2 separate regions of the Homo sapiens genome follow, and region 1 is linked to region 2. Evidence: promoter capture Hi-C in 16 types of primary human blood cells and fetal thymus (Javierre and others, 2016). All regions are on one chromosome and are shown on one strand. The core of a region is centred on a gene start or on the middle of the fragment in contact, and the rest is flanking DNA. Distances in the headings are between cores, read along the strand shown.

Region 1 (2,946 bases), core at 267-2,766, 5.8 Mb before region 2:
AAAACACACTCACACACATGCACAAACTCCCTCTCAACTTTATCAATTATCTGTGTCAAGTTGAATCTTCACCAAACCAGGAGTTAAGTCTAGTGGATTCTGAAGCCATGCAACCAGCCATCAGTGCAGAGGGAAAAGGACAGAAAGGCCCTAGCTCATGGAACCCTGAAAAGAGACTGCTCTCTAATGCAGATGAGGACGCAACCGTTCTGTTCCCTGCTGTTCTGATTGCTATCAGGCTTCAACCATCAGATATGGGTCCCTGACAATTTATCAGGAAGCAAGCAGCCTGCCTTTTCTCCTGTCTAAATTCTGCATTCTATTTCCTTGTATTCTACACAAAATGCAAAACAGCAGCTAAAAATAGAAGCTGAGGTGCTAGTGAGGCTGATTTGTGTGTGAAGAAGGCAGAGAGATATCGGGGGAAGAATTCAGAGGAGAGCTGCCTGGGGCCCCTTCCTGAGCTGTCACAGACAGCAGCCTGGAAAAGAAATACAAGGGAAGGAGACAGAGGTGGGAGGCTGGATGGACTGCCCAATTATTACACCTGCAGAGAATCCTTGCGGGTTTTTTGGGCTCCCTAAAAGCGCCCTGACCTATTTTTTGAAACGTTTTTTTCCTTATTCGTCAAAATACATTCTCAGTGAATTGCAGTCAAGTTTCCTGCAATTACTCAATCTAAAGTTTTGTTTTCTACACTGGGAGCTATAGTCTATGCCTCTACGTATAATGGTAATATACTCAACAGTACCAGGCTGACGATGGATAGGGTGAATTTCTTAAAGTGGCAGGGAAGCTGCAGTTTTAAATGAATCCACCTGAAAAGCTTTGAACAAAGCCTTGAGTCTATTTAAGAACAGAGAGCTCGTGTGATAGCTGGCTGGCTTCATCCCTTAGATAGGGGACACAGACTTATTGGATGCAAGTATAAAAGCCTTATAGTAGAAGTAAATTTCATAATGCCTTGGATTTATAGAGCACTTTTCTTCATAGAACTTGTATTCTCTGGGCAGAGTGACCAGCCCAACTTGGAATCTCGCTTAGCCATAGTGAAAATGATGAAAGTATTACAGGGGGCAAAAAAGCAAAAGATCAGGGAGAGAAGTCAATAGTTCCCCAGGGATCTCCCAGGGCAACCTTGCTCCCAGACTGCTGGAGCACCACTAGGATCTAGGGCATGTGGTTTCCACAACCACCTCCTCCTCCCTCATGTCATAGGGCTGTTGAGAAAACGGGATTAGCTACATGGCCAACCCATAATTATGCAGGGGTGGAGGAGTCAGACCATTGACCAGCTGGCTTCTCATTTCTCCTTCTCTCAGCTGCTCACCAGCCTCAGATGCAGGAGGGTGAAGATGGGATTCCCAGAACACCTCTCCATTTGCTCCCATGAACTGGAAAAAAGCGCAGTCATTGCAAGTGACTGTAAAATGCAAACCCATGCCTCGCTGTGGGCTGCGTGAGGCCCAGACTGGCCCACGGCACTGAGAGGTGGGGTGGGTGAATGATTCCCATGCCCACTCTGGACACCCAGGCCTTGCCTTGGCAGAACCTAAGGAGGGGCTGAACAGCACAGCCGCATCTCTGAAGAAAGCAACCCTGTGTCACCCCAGGCAGATGCTGAGGCCGAAGGAAGCAAAGGTTCTTAGAAGGAAAGCAATGCTTCCTGCCCCCCTCACTTTAGCTCTCCGAAGCCACTTTTCCCAGCAGGTTTCCCCCTATCTCCAGCTCACCAGGGTGGGCACAGACAGAAGGAAACTCCTGGCTGGGCACCCTGGCAGGCTCAGGGAAACTAGAGCCCAGGCTTGGGCCCTGCCTTGCCAACCTTCCTCCGGCCCAGGCTTTACAACGGGCCCTTCCTCCAAGCTGGGGCTGGCCCCCAAACCTCTCACTGTCCCTCCATTCTGCTTGTCCCCTTTCAACTGCTCAGCAGTCAGAAGACGAGCAGGAGATCTTTAACAACTTGAACCTGACCAAATTAAGTTTGAGATGGTTTAAATAAATGTCCAAATGAGTTTTCTACATTTCTATGCTTTCTCTAACTCCCATTCTCAAGCAAGTGAAAAAATGTCTCTGAGTGAAGCCCTCAAGCTCTGACTGAGAATATAATGTTGTTATTATTAGAGCAACGGGGAAGGAGACATGCCATCTCCAGGCAGGGCTCGGGCGGGCTGTGTGGGAGGCGACTGTCAGCAGCTGTTGGGTGGAAAGCTTATTTATTGTCAGCAGCCTGGCTCAGAGATTAAGAAAAGCTCGGGTCTCCGGCTTACACACACATAGCTGCAGGCAGCAGCTGCTCCAGACATGGCATTCAACCACAGGGGTCCCCAGGGTCTCCTTTCAGGGTTAACTTGACCAATAAGGAAACCCTGGTGGCCACCAGGACAGCTGGAAAAATTCCCATGGGGCCACAGAACCAAATACCCCCAATAAAAATGTTCAGCATCCAATGCCTTCGCCAGACTAAACCCAAGAACCCAGAATCAGCCTTGAATCCCACACAACAGCAACAGCTCTATGTCCTGAGACTGTTTTCCAGTCATTCACCAAATACTTATTGTGCAGTGTCTGACAGACACCATACATGGGACTGGAAATAGACCAATGAATGAGACAGTCAGTCCCGATCCCTGCTCTCAGGGAGCTCACAGTCTGGTAAAAATTACCTGCAGTTAAACTGGTAAAAAATCTTGTGTTGAGTATTATGATAGAGGAAGCTCAGGGAGCTATGAGTACAACATCAGGAAAAATCTAACTGACCACAAGGAATTGCCCTGGTAAGAAAACCATCACTAAGAGATACTGTGAAGTTTGGGATTAGGGTCTCAAGAGACGTCAGCCCAAGACCATTACCACTATTTCTCCTTCTTCAGCTAATTAAACTTTTAGCTAATATCTACCCATTTGATTCATGTTCTGTTTATTACCAGTCTGTTGAACAGAAGG
Region 2 (2,825 bases), core at 163-2,662:
TTCCAAGATAACTTCCCATTATTTTCCTTTGGATAAAGACAATTAATAGGTATGTAATGGATTGTACGTGCCTGACCATATGAAAAGGTGAGATTTCCTTTTTTTTGGTCTTTGCACTCTCTTCAGTGGATTGCCTGTGATGTGCATCATGGTACGTTTTAGTACATATCCAATAATAAAACTGTTTCATTCTTTTGTTGTACATTGCGCATTTCGTGGAAAGAACAGTTTGGGGTTGGCAGGATATTTTAAATTATTTGCCCATATGGGTCCCCCAGTTTTGGGCACTTGTATGGCAGGCTGATATTCCCCATTACCTCTCCGTACTAATTTTAACTAGTAAGGGACAGGGGCAAGGGCATGGAGCTTTGGAGTCAGACAACCCTGGCTTTAAACTGTGCCTTTTATCAGCATTCTGAAGTACTGTATGTTGAAGTAACTTCTCTGAACCCCGAATACTTCATCTATAAAGTTAGGAATAATAAATACGTCATAGATTAAGTATGGACATTATCTGATGCATAGCAGGTACTATTCAAATGAAGGAAACGAAGTTATCCTAGGTCCTTTAATGCACTAAATGTGTGCTCCATTTCCGCCTTTCTTGGCATCTGTGTGAAATCTCAGGATATAGTGTCCACTAAACTTCAGTGCACTGCCTAATGAGACAACGAACTCCAAGTGCGGACCTTTTGAGTTTAAACGGGTTTCAGTAGGTAAAATACGTAAAGTTCACAGTACCCTCGCAATTTAGATGGAGGAAAAAAAATCAGTCGGGGGGGGGGTCCCCGTATGCAAATACAGGAATTACAGAAGAAGACAGGACCCCCGCCGCAGCACCACTTCCCCCTACAGGGCGCAACGTCCCGCCGCTGGCGCGGGGGTGGAGATTTGCATGTGCGAAGTCGGGAAGAGGGGGAACCACCTCTCGAAAACCCCGGCCGTCGCCCTCCCAGGCCGGGAGAGTCGGCCCCGCGCGCCCCCAAAAGCTCCCCAGCGGCCGGCCCTCTCTACGTCATCCGCACCCTCCCGCCCGCTCCTGAACTTTAAACCACACTCGGAAGAACAACCTGGAGGAGGGGGATTTCTCAGGAGCCAGCGGCCTTCTCACGCTGCTAGCCGTCACCTCCCGGCTCCCGCCGTTCCCTGCGCTCCCGAAGCCCACCCCAAGCTCCCGCTCCCTCGACCCCCTCCCAAGCCAGCCGCCGCAGCAGCGCCGGGGGCGTATGCGTGGGGGCCGGCGGGGAGCGTGCGCGGGGACAGGCAGGGGCGGGGCGCTGGGGGCGGTCGCGCGCGCGGCGGCCGCGAGGTCGCCCCGCCCACGCCTCCGGGTGAGGGTTGCTGCGTCGGGCCTACGTCAGCCGCGGGAAATTCCCCTCCCGCCAGGCTGCTCGCCTCTCGGCTGGGCCAGCACTCGGCTCTCCCCGCTCCGCCCCCTGCCCCTGGCTCCCGTACGGTGGACGGCGACGCTGGGTGACCCGGGGTGCAAGAATTCAGGGGTTGGGAAGGTGTGAGCCGCAAACCCAGCGGAGGGCGGGAAGAAGGAGGAGGCCTCTAGGGTGGTCGGGGGACTGGGGGCCCCGCCGGCAGAGGTCCCTCGGCCTCCTGACTGACTGACTGCGGCCGCCTCCGGCCAGGACGCTGGGAGCTGCCTGCGGGAAGGTGCGGGGAGCGGAGCCATGGCCTCCGGTGAGTGTTCATGGGGCGCGGGCCTGGGCCGGGGGAAAGGAGCTCTTCTGAAGGGGGTCCTGCCGCAGTGAGTTTAGGGAGCTCAGTTTTTGCTGGGGCGCGTTCTGTCTTTAAAATCTCATATGGTAAAATTGTCAGCTTTTAAAAAAGTTACCTGCTTCAGGGTTTGCGTGCAGAATCCAAGCCACGCTCTGTAATTCGATCCTGTTGTCATAGCAGGAACCTTAGAAATTCCCAACGACTTGATTTTAGGATTAGGGAAGTCATAAGCGAACCAAAGGAGGACGAAGAGTTCTCATTAAAAATGTATATGTATTGAAGATGGTGGTTTTATGTTTTAGAACAGGAATGAGGAACCTTCAGACCTCGGGCAAGCTCTCTCCCCCTTTTTAGTTTAATTTCATCAAATGCAAAGAGGTGATCCCCCTTGTACTGACAGTTGTACAAAATGTGTCACGGCTTTAAAAATCATCCGTGGTATTTTAACACGAATTAGAAAATCCGTGGTATTTTAAGTGTTAATGTTGCTTCGACCAAGTGTAGGCCGGGCGCGGTGGCTCATGCCTGTATTCCCAGCACTTTGGGAGGCCGAGGCGGGTGGATAACCAGAGGTCAGGAGTTTGAGACCAGCCTGGCAAACATGGTGAAACCCCGTCTCTACTAAAAATACAAAAATCAGCGGGGCGTGGTGGCGCGCGCCTGTAATCCCAGCTACTCGGGAAGCTGAGGCAGGAGAATCGCTTGAACCTGGGAGGTGGAGGTTGCAGTGAGCCGAGATCGCGCCCCTGCACTCCAGCCTGGGCGACAGAGGGAGACCCTGTCTCTATTTAAAAAAAAAAAAAATGTAGTTTTTACTGTGAGATAAAGCTCAAGGTTCCTAATCTGACGAATAGAGACGTTGAATCCCCCTTCCTCCTCGCTGGAAATAAGGGGAAAGAGGAGTTTTAGAATATCCGAGCTTTAAAATAATGAGTAGGAATGAATACAACTTTATCACTTATGTGACTATATATTTTCCCTTAATAAATGCTCGATCTCTCCCTTTGGGGGGGAATAAGTTTGTAAGAAACATTGCAGAGCAAGAAAGTCTCCTATATACACAGATGTGGTTGGGGCTGCCTGGAGCTTAAGGTTGA

Evidence for each region. Contacts are between HindIII fragments. The CHiCAGO score rates a contact against its expected background, and 5 or more counts as called.
Region 1: a fragment that was not itself captured here is called in contact with the fragment with the promoter of REL in region 2 in 1 of 17 cell types (M0 macrophages); the score reaches 9.1 in M0 macrophages.

Annotation. Positions count from the first base shown.
Region 1 is chr2:55,118,593-55,121,538 of GRCh38, forward strand. It overlaps a transcript of RTN4 not described here. Among named protein-coding and RNA genes, the nearest start is that of RTN4, 70 kb to the left of the region's middle. The HindIII fragment of the contact is 1,385 bases long and covers 825-2,209 here.
Region 2 is chr2:60,880,162-60,882,986 of GRCh38, forward strand. REL (REL proto-oncogene, NF-kB subunit) reads left to right here and starts at 1,413. Exons shown (of 10, transcript NM_001291746.2): 1 at 1,413-1,689. The coding sequence starts at 1,680. REL-DT (REL divergent transcript) reads right to left here and starts at 1,153. Exons shown (of 3, transcript NR_033980.1): 1 at 1,071-1,153. RefSeq lists a silencer at 1,008-1,547 and an enhancer at 1,156-1,825. The HindIII fragment of the contact is 7,860 bases long and covers 1-2,825 here.